Regions from separate parts of the Homo sapiens genome. Here all the other regions are linked to region 1. Evidence: promoter capture Hi-C in 16 types of primary human blood cells and fetal thymus (Javierre and others, 2016). All regions are on one chromosome and are shown on one strand. The core of a region is centred on a gene start or on the middle of the fragment in contact, and the rest is flanking DNA. Distances in the headings are between cores, read along the strand shown. Region 1 holds the start of CRADD-AS1 (CRADD antisense RNA 1). Region 2 overlaps LOC124902986 (a long non-coding RNA gene). Region 3 holds the start of LOC124902986 (a long non-coding RNA gene). Region 4 has its middle 66 kb from the start of PLXNC1. Region 5 overlaps LOC105369913 (a long non-coding RNA gene).

Evidence for each region. Contacts are between HindIII fragments. The CHiCAGO score rates a contact against its expected background, and 5 or more counts as called.
Region 2: a contact is called between a fragment that was not itself captured here and the fragment with the promoter of CRADD-AS1 in region 1, in 1 of 17 cell types (activated CD4 T cells). The highest score is 5.6, in activated CD4 T cells.
Region 3: a contact is called between a fragment that was not itself captured here and the fragment with the promoter of CRADD-AS1 in region 1, in 14 of 17 cell types (megakaryocytes, activated CD4 T cells, erythroblasts and 11 more). The highest score is 12.5, in megakaryocytes.
Region 4: a fragment that was not itself captured here is called in contact with the fragment with the promoter of CRADD-AS1 in region 1 in 7 of 17 cell types (fetal thymus, M0 macrophages, activated CD4 T cells and 4 more); the score reaches 7.9 in fetal thymus.
Region 5: a fragment that was not itself captured here is called in contact with the fragment with the promoter of CRADD-AS1 in region 1 in 1 of 17 cell types (fetal thymus); the score reaches 5.6 in fetal thymus.

What each region holds. Positions count from the first base shown.
Region 1 is chr12:93,736,560-93,739,111 of GRCh38, reverse strand. CRADD-AS1 (CRADD antisense RNA 1) reads left to right here and starts at 1,289. Exons shown (of 3, transcript NR_110092.1): 1 at 1,289-1,413. All of the region lies in intron 2 of CRADD (CARD and death domain containing adaptor protein), which reads right to left. The HindIII fragment of the contact is 4,271 bases long and covers 1-1,862 here.
Region 2 is chr12:94,121,210-94,123,761 of GRCh38, reverse strand. All of the region lies in intron 1 of LOC124902986 (a long non-coding RNA gene), which reads right to left. Among named protein-coding and RNA genes, the nearest start is that of PLXNC1, 26 kb to the left of the region's middle. The HindIII fragment of the contact is 544 bases long and covers 1,005-1,548 here.
Region 3 is chr12:94,101,323-94,103,874 of GRCh38, reverse strand. It overlaps LOC124902986 (a long non-coding RNA gene), which reads right to left and starts at 2,262. Exons shown (of 2, transcript XR_007063409.1): 1 at 259-2,262. RefSeq lists enhancers at 1,540-1,709, 2,160-2,219, 2,276-2,552. The HindIII fragment of the contact is 2,851 bases long and covers 1-2,552 here.
Region 4 is chr12:94,081,445-94,083,996 of GRCh38, reverse strand. No RefSeq gene overlaps it. Among named protein-coding and RNA genes, the nearest start is that of PLXNC1, 66 kb to the left of the region's middle. The HindIII fragment of the contact is 2,681 bases long and covers 1-2,552 here.
Region 5 is chr12:94,045,819-94,048,370 of GRCh38, reverse strand. LOC105369913 (a long non-coding RNA gene) reads right to left here. Exons shown (of 4, transcript XR_945223.3): 3 at 1,293-1,424; 4 at 333-529. Among named protein-coding and RNA genes, the nearest start is that of PLXNC1, 100 kb to the left of the region's middle. The HindIII fragment of the contact is 3,707 bases long and covers 1-2,552 here.

The DNA of each region.
Region 1 (2,552 bases), core at 40-2,539:
GGCTTCGTGTCTCTACATAGTCAGATACCTGTGTATTTTGCTGGGAGAAGGGGAAAAAAAATAAACAAATAAAAATAAAACTCTCTATTCCCAAACTCCCTGCATCCTTTCAAAGTCACATTTTATTAATGGAAATTAAAATGATGAAGAAAGAAACCATTAGTAACCTAAATGATAAGTTTCCCCTTAAAGACACATTTTAACACCAACAAGAGGACTTTCTTCTTTCACTTTCTTCCTTCCTTCCTTTCCTCGTTTCTCTCTCTCCCTCTCTTTCCTTCTTTCTTTCTCCTTCCCTCTCTCTCTTCTCTTTTTCTTTCTAGTCAGAGTTTGTGACTTACTAATTATTTTTATTCTGTTTGAATAGGGTCCCTGTTATCTTTTGTGATTTTCTGAAATGAAGTTAAGATTTCCATTATTTATGAGAATAAAACAGGAGGTTGACACTTTACGCACAAAAAAGAATAACCAAAGGTTACAATGACATCAGTTTTAGTTTTTATTAAGGGCTGGCGTGTGGTGCAGGGGGTGGCGGTGGGAGCGGGGTGAGGCAGGTGTGAGGAATGAGTTTGTTTCTTCCAAGAGAAGGATTTGCTTTGGTCAGTGTTGCTGCAGTCCCAGTGAAGGGGCCTACTCTGCCAGCTCTTCTGGGTAGACTTCATAACAGAGTGGGCAGGCTCAATTCTCTAGGAAGCCTGATGATGGCAACTGCATCTCATGGAAGAATTCCACAAAGGGTTAAATTAGGGTGAGATTGTCAACAGGCTTCAAAAAGGCAGAGTTCCAGGGCCCATGCCTGAGGTCTCATGGGCCTCCTTCAGGTCCTCATCCCCACAGTCTGACACTTTTGGCCCTTCTCTTCTCCAGCTCCCCACCCCATTCTTCGGCCAGTCCTTCCTTTTTCCTCTAACCCTGCAAAAAATGAGCAGCGCTGTTGTTTTGTTCCAACTGACAAAACAGCTAAGAAACAGCAGAACATGACTGCCCTTTGCAAAATGGGCCATGTGATCCTCCTAGCTCAATTCAACACTTACAGTAAAAACGAATAGAAAGGGACCTGTTTATGAAACTCTCCTGCTTGCCTTTGGAATACTCTCATCCTCTCCCTTCTCAGCCTCCTAAATACCCAAGTGAATTTATATAATGAGCTTTATTTTATCACCCTGAAATTCTTCCTCAGTCCAAATTGCTAATGTGGCAGGTTCCAGCTGCCCAAATTCCCTAAACAACATTGCCTGTTCCATAAAAAGCATGCAATTACAAGCACAGCAGTCCTGCTCTGGTTCTTAGAACTATAAACTGACTACACAGCTCCCTGGCCCGGGAAGGCTATGAAACAGGCAACATGGACAATTTAAAGGTGTACAACATCCGAGGTTCCATTTCACCCTCAGGCAGCACGGAGTGGACAAGGTAAGGCCACCCTCCACTTTTCTTCTGGCTACTATATTGATTCTCTGGAAACTCTCTCTGCTCCAAAAGAAACCACCCAATCCCATGGAGAAAAGGTGACACTGAATTTGCACTGCTTTTTATGGTTGCATTTGTTTGACTAAGAGGGAGCAGAGTTCCATACAACAGACTGCTTTAGTTGGGTGACTTGAAAATAACACATACCAGATTAGTTCTCCAGATGCAGATTAGTACTAAGTTTGAATCCTTTCTTTTAAATTAATTAATGTAATCTCAATGTTTACATAATAGACATTGACTTTTATCTGGCACATACAGTATATGACTCTGCCTTTAGCAAAAATACCATTCAAGCTATCTTTAGCAGATGTGAATGTTTTATTTTTATTTTGGGGACTCCAAAGAGAGTCCATAACCTACCTTGGCATTGTCAGATCTCAAAAAAAGCTTTCTTCATACTTGCAATATAGTAATATCTAAGTACTTGGACATCTCTGCACAAAATATATGGGTCCACATCTCCCTGTTTTTCCATATACTATTCCCTCTGCAACCTTGTTCACATAGCAAACTCTAATTTATTCTTCAATAGGCAGCCTATGCCACCTTCCCTCAACTATCCCAGACCAGTAGTCATCACTGCCTCCTCTACCCCTTGTACATTTCTCTATGTGGTCTCACCAGAGAAGTACTATGTTTGCTCATATGTCTGGTCTCACCAGACAGTACCATGTTTGCTCAACTCAAAGTTCCTTGAGGAAATAATTGTATTTGTATCTCCAGTGCCTTGCATATTTTGTATCACATAATGAGTTCTATAAAAGAGAACTAAACTGATGTGGCTATGAAATGATTTACAGCTTTTAACTGGAATGAGCCTAGTACAAGACTCACTTAGATGCTGGTGGTTGATCCTAAGTTTCTCATGCTGTTATCTGCAATCATTTGCTCTTGCTCTACATTCAGAAGAGAAAGAAAAACTGGTGACACTAATCTGGCCTCTATATCATAATTAGACCAGGGGTAGGATCTGAGAAACTAGAAAATATTTAGCCTACCCCTAGTCACATCCTAAAAGACATCAATGTGGAACTCAAGGAACTCAGTGGATTTACCAACATTTATCATACCCTATATCC
Region 2 (2,552 bases), core at 27-2,526, 380 kb before region 1:
TGGTGGCTCATGCCTGTAATCCCAGCACTTTGGGAGGCCGAGGCGGGTGGATCACTTGAGGTCAGAAGTTCGAGACCAGCCTGGCCAACATGGTGAAATCACATCTCTACTAAAAATATAAAAATTAGCCAGGTGTGGAGGTAGGTGTCTGTAATCCCAGCTACTCCTGAGGCTGAGGCATGAGAATCGCTTGAACCCGGGAGGTGGAGGATGCAGTGAGCCGAGATCGCGCCACTGCACTCCAGCCTGGGCGACAGAGTGAGACTCCACCTCCAAAAAAAAAAAAAAAACTCAAAAAAAACAAAAAACAAAAAACAAAAAACAAAAAAACCCCACAAAACTCCTCACCTTAAACTGACCAAGAAGAAGCCAGACTACTACTTCCACTTTTATGTTGTGGCTGGCAGACCACAAGGAGCCTGCTCTGGAGAGGGCGGAGAGGGAAAGCCCAGCTGCTGCTCACTCAGCCCCTTTTTGACAGAAGACTTGTCCCCAGATCAGGGATGACCAGGGAAGAGATCAGTGGACAGGGTAAATCCACAGCCATTTGATGTAGGGACATTTTAATTTGGGAAATCAAATGCAGGAAAGATATTACCTTACTGTTCATTTCAAGCATCTCACACACACCATTAAATGCCCCAAACCAGGCTACTATTGAACCTTAACCACATACAAATGACATATTTACCCAAATACCCCAACATGCTAACAATCCTTTCTGGGTTGCATGTAGCCCAAACTGCCCCTGTGTGTGAATTACAAAAGGCACACTCCCACCCCTTCTTCAAGACACTTGGCTTACTTCTGTTGGAAAATTGTTGTCATGGGCTGATTTATTAGAATAAGACACATGACTATCATCTGCCAGAAAACTATCATAATAAATATACAAACTAACTGTGTTTACTATCAATGATGGTCCTTTAGATGTGGTGCCCTTGTGCAGAAGTCAGTTTGAAATAGAGAAGTTTGAAATAGTTGTATCAAGGCCATCAAAAGCTTAACTTCCTTGTCCCAGTATCCTTATTAATGCTTTGCAAAATCATGATCCTTAATGCATTTCTCGTCTTGCTATGGTCAACTTGTGATACACTGAATGAATAAAATAGAGCGAACAGAAATGAAGGATCTGTTTGTCAGATCGGTTAAACCAGGAAGTTTCAAAAGAAAGGATTGTTAGCATGTTAGAGTATTTGGGTAAATACGTAATTTGTATGTGGTTAAGGTTCAATAGTAGCCTAGTTTGGGGCATTTAATGGTGTGTGTGAGATGCTTGAAATGAACAGTAAGGTAATATCTTTCCTGCATTTGATTTCCCAAATTAAAACGTCCCTACATCGAATGGCTGTGGATTTACCCTGAGCATCAGCTCTGAGGTTGGGAATAGACGACCTGTGTACTTCTGCCTCCTGATCATGCCTGGGGCGTTCTAATCTCATGGTCTAAAGGTCTCAAAACAGGTAAAACAGAAATGAATGTTCTCAAATTCGTGGGGGTATCTCACCAGTTATTTTGGAAATAAATATAGCTGCATGCAGACAAGCTTCCATTTGTCCAGAAGTACCTAACTAAGTGGAAGCTGCCCACACTATTACACTGGAGTTAAAGTATTCTGAGCTCCACCCACTCTCTACCCATTTTTAGCATAGTGTGATGGAGGCAAGCAGACCACGAGAACCCAGTGGAAATGTCACCAAGTGACCAGATCGCAGGCCTGTTTGCAGGTGGTGTCTGACTGCTGGTCACCAGATCCCTCCCACCATAAATACAAAAGTTCCTTGTCAAAATTCTTTCACACAAGTTCTTATGCTTTAAACTCACAAAAGTAGGACAGGGCTCCTATCTCTCCATTTTACAGAATGGGAAACAGGCTCAGAGAGGCCAGTGTGTAGGAAAGTCAGGAACCAGAATATGGGTCTCTTGATTCTTTGGTCCAACATTCCATGAGTCTCAGTTTTTAGCACTGAGATCATGTGGGGGAACTTTGAAAAATGTGGATGCCCAGGCTCAATCCCAGCTCCTCAAGAGATAGAACCTGGAATGTGTATTTTTCTTTCTTTCTTTTTTTTTTTGAGATGGAGTCTCACTCTTGTCGCCCAGGCTGGAGTGCAGTGGCGTGATCTTGATTCATTGCAACCTCCACTTCCCAGGTTCAAGCAATTCTCCTACCTTAGCCTCCCAAGTAGCTGAGATTACAGGTGCCCACCACCACAACTGGCTAGTTTTTGTATTTTTAGTAGAGACGGGGTTTCACCATGTTGGCCAGGCTGGTCTGTAACTCCTAACCTCAAGTGATCACCTGCCTGGGCCTCCCAAAGTGCTGGGATTACAGGCGTGAGCCACCGCACCCAGCCTGGAATGTGTATTTTCTTTAAAGTGCCATGAGGGCTAGGCGTGGTGGCTCATGCCTATGAGACCAGCACTTTGGGAGGCTGAGGCAGGAGGATCACTTGAGCCCAGGAGTTCGACACCAGCCTGGGCAAGATGATGAAACCCTGTCTCCACCAAGGAAAAAAAAAAAAAAAAAAAGGGTGGGCATGGTGGTCCAC
Region 3 (2,552 bases), core at 18-2,517, 360 kb before region 1:
TTCTTATTCCAGTCCATTAACTACATGATTAATTACTAAAGCTATTACTACCTAACATTTTTGGAACACTTATTATATCCCAAGGCTGTGTTGAACTTTCTATATGCCTATGGGCCACTAACATAACAACTCTATGTTTTAACTATAATTATGATTCCATTTTACCTTTGGGAAAACTGAGGCACAGAGAGCTAAGTTAACTAGCCCAAGGGCACATTCTCTCTGATCCAAAGCCAAGTTCTCGTGAGTACATCTTACCGTCTCCTTTGCTCCCCATGGTCCAGCTATGCCGAATGTCTTTAGTTCTCTGAATGACTTTAGTTCTCTGCTTCTTTATGGCTCTGAGCATTTGTCATGTGGTTCCCCTCTTTGAAATGACCATCTGTATCAGTTTCCTATGACTTCATAACACATTGCAAACATAACAGCTTAAAACACCCATTTATTAGTTCATAGTTCTGGAGGTCAGAAGCCTGAATGCAGCATGACTGGGTCCTCTCTTCAGGGTCCTACAGAGATAAAATCAAGGTGTCAGCTGGGACTAAGTCTCATACAGCTTGGGGATCCCTTCCAAACTCCCTGCTTATTGGCAGAGTTCAGTGCTCTTGCAGTGGTAGGATTGAAGGCTGGTTTCTCTGCTGGCTGTCAGGCAGGGGTCGTTCTGAGCTCCTAGAGTCAGCCTGCATTCCTTGCCACGTGGCCCCTTTCATCTGTAAAGCCAGCAAAGAAAATCTTGCCAATGATGAGTTCTTGCCGCTTGTCAAATCTCTTCTGCCAGGACAATCCAGTCCCTTTCAAAGGTTCACCTGGCTAGGTTAGGCCTACCCAGGATCATCTCCAGATCTTAAGATCAATTAATTTGGGAACTTTAATTACATCTGCAAATTCTCTTCACAGAAGCACCTAAATTGTTTGATTGAATAACTGGGCAAAGGTGTGTGTACACTGCGAGGGGGATGGGCTGAGAATCTTCAGGGGTCATCTTAGAATTCTGCCTAATCTTCAAAACTCAGCTCAAGGGTGACTTTCTTGATGTCTCTAGGCCGAGCTAGGTCCACCCCCTCTACCCCACAGCATCAAATACACACTCTTCTACTGGTCCATTTCCCCCCAGCTGGGCTGTGAGATTCTTGAGATCAGAAACCAAGCGTTGGTCATCTTTGTGTGCCCAGCTCCCGGAATAGCACCCGACTCTATATTTGCTGCCTGAGAGCTCAGGATGTGCTCAAGCAAGCCCTCCAGACGAGAAGGGCATTTTCATTAGAATTGCATGCATCGCAGGTACAGGGCTGTTGACGGGACAGCAAGTGCTTCCGGAAGGTCCCAGGAAACTTCATCGGCACCCTACGCTCCAAAGTCTTTTAGCCGAGAACCATGGGCAGGCCAGCACGCCTTCTGAAAAGCCCAGTGAAACCAGCATCGCCGTGACGGTGAGGCGGATGGGCCACTAGGTGTCACTCAAGATTCAATAAAGAGAATCGCGGATGCTTCGAAAGCCGTTTCCGCCCTTCTAGGGAAGGGAGCTGGTTAGACGATCCCCACCCATTGTTTTTTGGTTCACGCTCCAAGCCTTCCGCGCCTCTTCATTTCCCTTCGCGGACAAGTCTGGGTCTAAAATAGGATCACAGAATTCGAAGCTATAAGGCTGGGGGCCACCCGACCGGCTAATTCAGCCTCCCGATTTTGTGGACCAGCAACCAGAGCCGGGAGCTTGCGCAGGGCGGGCAGCAGAGCCCCGCTTCAGCCCCCACGGGGTCCGCGTGCTCCTGCCTACCCTCGAGCAGCAGTGAGGAGGCGTGGGCGGGTCCCGGCTCTCGGCCTGGGTGTCCAGGGTGTCCAGGGTGTCCTGGGTCGTCCCGGGGGCTGCACCGCGAGGTGTCCCTCAGGACCACTTCCAGATGCCCAGGCCGCATTCAGCTGATTCAGCGCCCGTGCTCCAGAACCCAAGACAAGGAAGGTGAAAAAGAAGGTCCCGTGGATCTGTTAGGACCTGACCTTTCTTCAGATCGTCTCAAACAATCTCTTCTTTCTTTGGATTTTAGGGCTGGGGAGTGAGGACGCACCTGGCTTCCTGACAGCATCTGCAATTGACTACAGTCCTTTCACTTATGCCAGGGGGAGGTTCGGGGCTGAAGGGATGGGGTCGCAAAATGCTCGTGCAAAGCACCTTCTTGGCAGGAGTTTGGTTTTTCTGCCCCCACCCTCCTACTTTCCCCGTGGAAGAAGTGGATGTCCTCGCGCGAGGTTCGAACAGGCTGCAAGACCAAGGCACCGCGCGTGCGGACTGATCTTCCTCACCCCCGGCAGAGGGCGCCCTTCTCCCGCTCCAGCGCCCCGCCGGGCGAGCCCCTCCAGCCGCGCCCTGAGCCCTGCCTCGTCCAGGCCGGGTCTCCAGCGCCAGGTGCCTGCAGCCCTACACTGGGAGAATTACAAAGCTACTTCTGTCTGACATTGGGCACAGCCTTTGAATGTCCCGTTCCTTTTGCTCCTAGCTGACTTACTGCTCATTTTTATTTTCCTAAGTGAATATTGAAACTTATTTGCATTTTATG
Region 4 (2,552 bases), core at 20-2,519, 340 kb before region 1:
AAATGTTATATAAGGTGGTTGGACCAGATGAGCTATAAGATGCCATTTAGTTCTAAGCCTACATTGCTCTTATTGGCCTATTTATAGTGAGGGGAAAATTTTCTGGATAGAAGAGAAAGGTTTAGTGTTTGAATGGCTTGCAAAATACTATGGATTTTCTTCTTTAGAACTATTTGTGAACAGGATCAATCTGATAGCTGCAGACTGATAAATCAACTATATGCTCTGTAATACTTCTTTAAAACAGGGGTAGTCAAATTCAAATGCCTCTGGGAACCAGACAGTAACTTAAGTGAGTCCAGCAGACTGGCTGTAATAAAACAGGAAGTAGTAGGGACTATGGCAAAGATTATGTGTTGGGCTGTTTTGGCATCGATATAAAGAAATACCTGAGATTGGGTAATTGATAAAGAAAAGAGGTTTAATTGACTTATGGTTCTGCAGACTGTACAGGAAGTATGGTGCTGGCATCTGCACAGCTTCTGGGGTGGCCTCAGGTGGCTTTCAATCATGGCAGAGGGCAAAGTGGGAGCAGACACATCACATAGCAAGAGCAAAAGAGGGAGTGATAGGGAGGTGCCACACACTTGCATAACCAGATCTCACAAGAACTCACTATTGTGAGGACAGCACCAAGCCATGAGGGATGTGCCCCCATGACCCAAACACTCAAACACCTACCACCAGGCCCCACCTCCAACGTGGGCCCCACCTCCAACATGAGATTTGGACGGGACATCTAAACTATATCAGATTACATGTGATAAAATAGGGAGTGGTGGAGACTGTGGCAAACTCGAATGCTCTTATGGCTTTACTTGGAAGTGATCATTGCTCAGCTTTGGTCAGTTCCTGCCAAACAGCAGTGGGGGTGTATTAGCCCATTTTCACACTCCTATAAAGAAATTCCTGAGACTGGTAATTTATAAAAGAAAAACGTTTCATTGACTCACAGTTCCACATGGCAGGGGAGGCCTCAGGAAACTTACAATCATGGCAGAAAGTGAAGGGGAAGCAGGCAGCTTCTTCACATGGCGGCAGGAGGGAGAAGTGCAAGTGCAGGAAAAAACTGCCACTTTAAAAACCATCAGATCTCACGAGAACTCACTCACTACCATGAGAACAGCATGGCGGAAGCCGCCCCCTTCATCCAAGCACCTCCCTCCCTCAACACATGGGGATTCCAGTTTGAGATGAGATTTGGGTAGTGACACAGAGCCAAACCATATCAGTGGGCTTAGGATGCCTAATCCTGAGATTTTTAAAGGGAAGCCAAAATTTTAATGTGAAGTCTCCCAATGTGAAACATCTTAGTAACTGGATTAAATTCTAAAAATAACATCACTGGAGAAACAAAACACTTCTATTGACTCATTGTGGTCCCTCAAGTTACCAGTTTGTAACTTTTGCCTCAAGCCTTTGAATGCGATATTTACAAATACTAATAAACAGCTTAATGAAATGTACAAACATTTTAACGTTCCTTGTTTGCTCATGTATAAAAAACAGTTTTTGAGATGTCCTAAAAACACATGATATTATTCCCATTTTGTGGCTAAGAAACTCAAAGCGAAACAGGTTTCCATTACATAAAGACCTGCAAGCAGAACTTAGATTTAGAGCTTAGATTTCCTGGAATACCCAATATTCCTTCTCTCAAATCCTTTTTGCCATTCATGTTAATGAGAAGGGACAAGGCAAGAGCTATTTGCACTGACACATCCACAGGCACATGGACCTGGGTACTGGACGCAGACCAAAGATGTAAATATTATCTTAAGAGAAATGGTAGGCTGTCTGAGTCTTGTTATGTAGTGGAAAGGAAAATGATTGGGACGTTTGGTGTTGGTTCAAATGATCTTGTAATTATAGGATATGGTTGAAATTATAAGGCCCAAAATATAGAAGTAGAAAAGGCAATGTGAAAGAGTAGTTGGAAAACTACCAGAAAAGCAAAAGGGAAGATATCAGAAAGTGATTCCAGAGGCAGTGTGTATGGTTAGTACTCCTTACCGATGGGGTTAGCTATCCTTCCATCGACATGCTTAGTAACTGCTGTTTAATTGCTATTCTGTCCCAGGCAGTAAGTAAGCAACAAAGAGACAATAGCAAGCAAGTAGACATAGTTCTTTTTCTTCTAGAGTTGCTGTCTAGAGGGAAGACAGACAAGTAAATTAGCTGTAAGTATAGACTTGATGTCCAAGCCCAAAAGAATAATTAATACCTGTGTCCCCTAACCAGCCATGTATTTGACCAAGTGCCATCTGATTTGCCTTGTCACAGTTTGTTTCTCAGTGGAAACATGAGCAGTGTGCATCTTAATCCTCTGCTTAGAAACAGAAATCTGAATGTGAGGAAGACATGGGGCTAAGAGTGGCCTCTTAAAAATTAGCATTAACATAACTGGCAAAGAACTAAGAAGACCTGGGTTCCCATCTTGTCTCTGCCATTTTACAGCTGTAGGAGCTTTGGCAGGCTGCTTGCCTCTCTGAACGTCAGCTCCTTTTCTATAAGTAAGAGTTTCAGCCCATCTTCAGGACTGTTATGATGAA
Region 5 (2,552 bases), core at 17-2,516, 310 kb before region 1:
TTGTCTTCTCTCATCTCTCCAATGATTTCCCAAGAATAGAATAGGATGAGCAGCCAAATAGTGGGCGCGAAGGCTTGTCTCTTTCATTTCCAGCACAGCCCTGGAAAAAAAATCTCCCTACCTCACCTGCAATCACTCCTCCCTGGTCAGAATGTTTCTGCCATTTGGGCTTCATCTTATAGCCTTCGTGCCCATCAGCCCTGAGGGCAGGCAGTTTATGTGTTTGGCATGCCCTGTAACTCTCCAGCATTCTGAACCTTTACTGCAAGTCAGAGGCATTTATTAATGCTGCTAATAATAGTACCTAGCAGGGAAGGACTGGCACAAACATGCAAGAAGCAGCGTTTCCCTTTACTGTGCTTTCATTGTTCACTGGAACATGACAGATGGAGATAAATTCAGACTTGCCTTTTCAGTTCCGTCACTTGGGTTACTGATCCCATTACTAGAAGTTGTGCTTTGCTGGTGCCCGTAGAAACATGCAGCAAATAACAGGCTGTAGGGTGTTCTCATGCTCCATTCGTGCAGCCTGAAACAGAAAAGTTTGGTTTCTGAGAAAGCTGCAGGTTCCATCTCTGTAGCCTGAGGTTGTTTTGAAATGAGGCGGCCATAAAAGCTGAGCACAAGCCGAATCTTGCCTGCCTTCTTGCTTGCAAAGTGCAAAAAGGCAAGCAGAGAAAGCAAAATTACCTGTCTTTGTGTGCCTTTGTGTATCCCTATCTCTCAGTCTTTTACTTTGAAAAATTTCTCTATTTAGAACTGTGTAAATTGATATCAATTGCTAATCTCATTGAAGCCAGGTTTATGCCAAAAACTATGCAGGGAGCCTCCCAGGTATTATTTCTTTTGAACCTCGATAACTCAGTGCTATGTTGTTATTCCCATTTCATAGAGGAGGAAACCAAGGCAGGGAGAAATTCAGGTTATATGTTCAATGTAGCACAGTTGGTAAGGGGCAGAGGTAGAATTTGAACCTGTGTTTTTGTGACCCTAGAACCTGCAGTGGCAACCCCAATATCCTATTGCCTGTTGAGAGAGCAGAGGAGAGTTTGCAATCTCCAGTTGCTTCTTTCCACCACGGGCTGGCAGCTACTGGCCATTCCTATTGTGGAAAGCAAAAGGCATCCCAGCCTGGGAAACCAGCTGGATTTCATCACATCAGCTGAAGTCACGTCAGCTGACTTCAGGTCAGCTGAAGGTGTAGTCACCTGCCTCCACTTCCACTTTCCCTTCACAACTCTCTGTCACCCCACTCACCCCAGTCCTGACACACCAGATGGCTGCTTTTCTACCTGGTTAGTTACTGGGTACTGCAGGCCTCTGTTTCTCCAGGCTTCTTCACCAGTGTTTCTGCTGCAGGATAGGTTCAACGCAGCTTTCGTTGGCTGGTCTAGGACTTGATACAGTGGGCTGCACACTGAGCTCTGAACCAGGAATTCACAAATAAGTTGTTAGGACCTGCCGTGGTCTGAATGTGTTCCCTCTCCCCTCCCCCCAACAAATTCATATGTTGAAACTTAACTGCCAATGTGATAACATTAAGAGGTGGGGCCTTTAGGAGATGAGTAAGTCATGAAGGCTCTGCCTGTTACGAATGGGATGAGTACTCTTATAAAAGAGCTCAAGGGAACTAACTAGATCCCTTTTGTCCTGCCTTCTGCCATACGAGGACATAGCAATAAGGCACCATCTGAAAGCAGAGAGTAGCCCTTAGCAGACACTGAATGTGTTGGTGCCTTGATCTTGGATTTCCCAGCCTCCAGGACTGTGAGAAAATAAATCTCTGTTCTTTGCAAATTACCCAGTCTTGGATATTGTGTTATAGCAGCAGAAACGAACTGAGACAGGACTCTACTCATGTATTGTTTGATGAGTCTCCCGTAGTCCTGCCATAAGAAACTGAGTGCAGGCCAGGTGCCGTGGCTCACGCCTGTAATCCCAGCACTTTGGGAGGCCGAGGTGGGCAGATCATGAGGTCAGGAGATCAAGACCATCCTGGCTAACATGGTGAAACCCCGTCTCTACTAAAAAATGCAAAAAATTAGCCGGGCGTGGTGGTGGGCACCTGTAGTACCAGCTACTCAGCAGACTGTGGCAGGAGAATGGCGTGAACCCGGGAGGCAGAGCTTGTAGTGAGCCGAGATCGTGCCACTGCACTCCAGCCTGGGCGACAGAGGGAGACTCCATCTCAAAAAAAAAAAGGAAAAAAATAAAGGAAACTGAGTGCAAAAACATGCCCGTGCAAAAGTGATCTGTTGAGAGTAATGTATCATGTTGTGAAGGGGTTCACTCACTGTGAGAACATGGTGGAAATGAAGAACACTAGCCTGGGATTCAAGTGAAGCTGTCCTTTCCTGAGCGCTTACTGTGGACTGGGCACTGTGCTGGCCTCTTGCCTACCTGATTTCATGCAGGCCTCAAAATTGTTTTGTGAAGTAGGCTGCCTTATCGATATTTTACAAATGAGAAAACTGAGGCTAGATATATTAACTGGCTTTTCAAGGGCGGTTTGACTTGTAAAGTGGAGTCTTCAGTTTCCAATGCCAATGTTC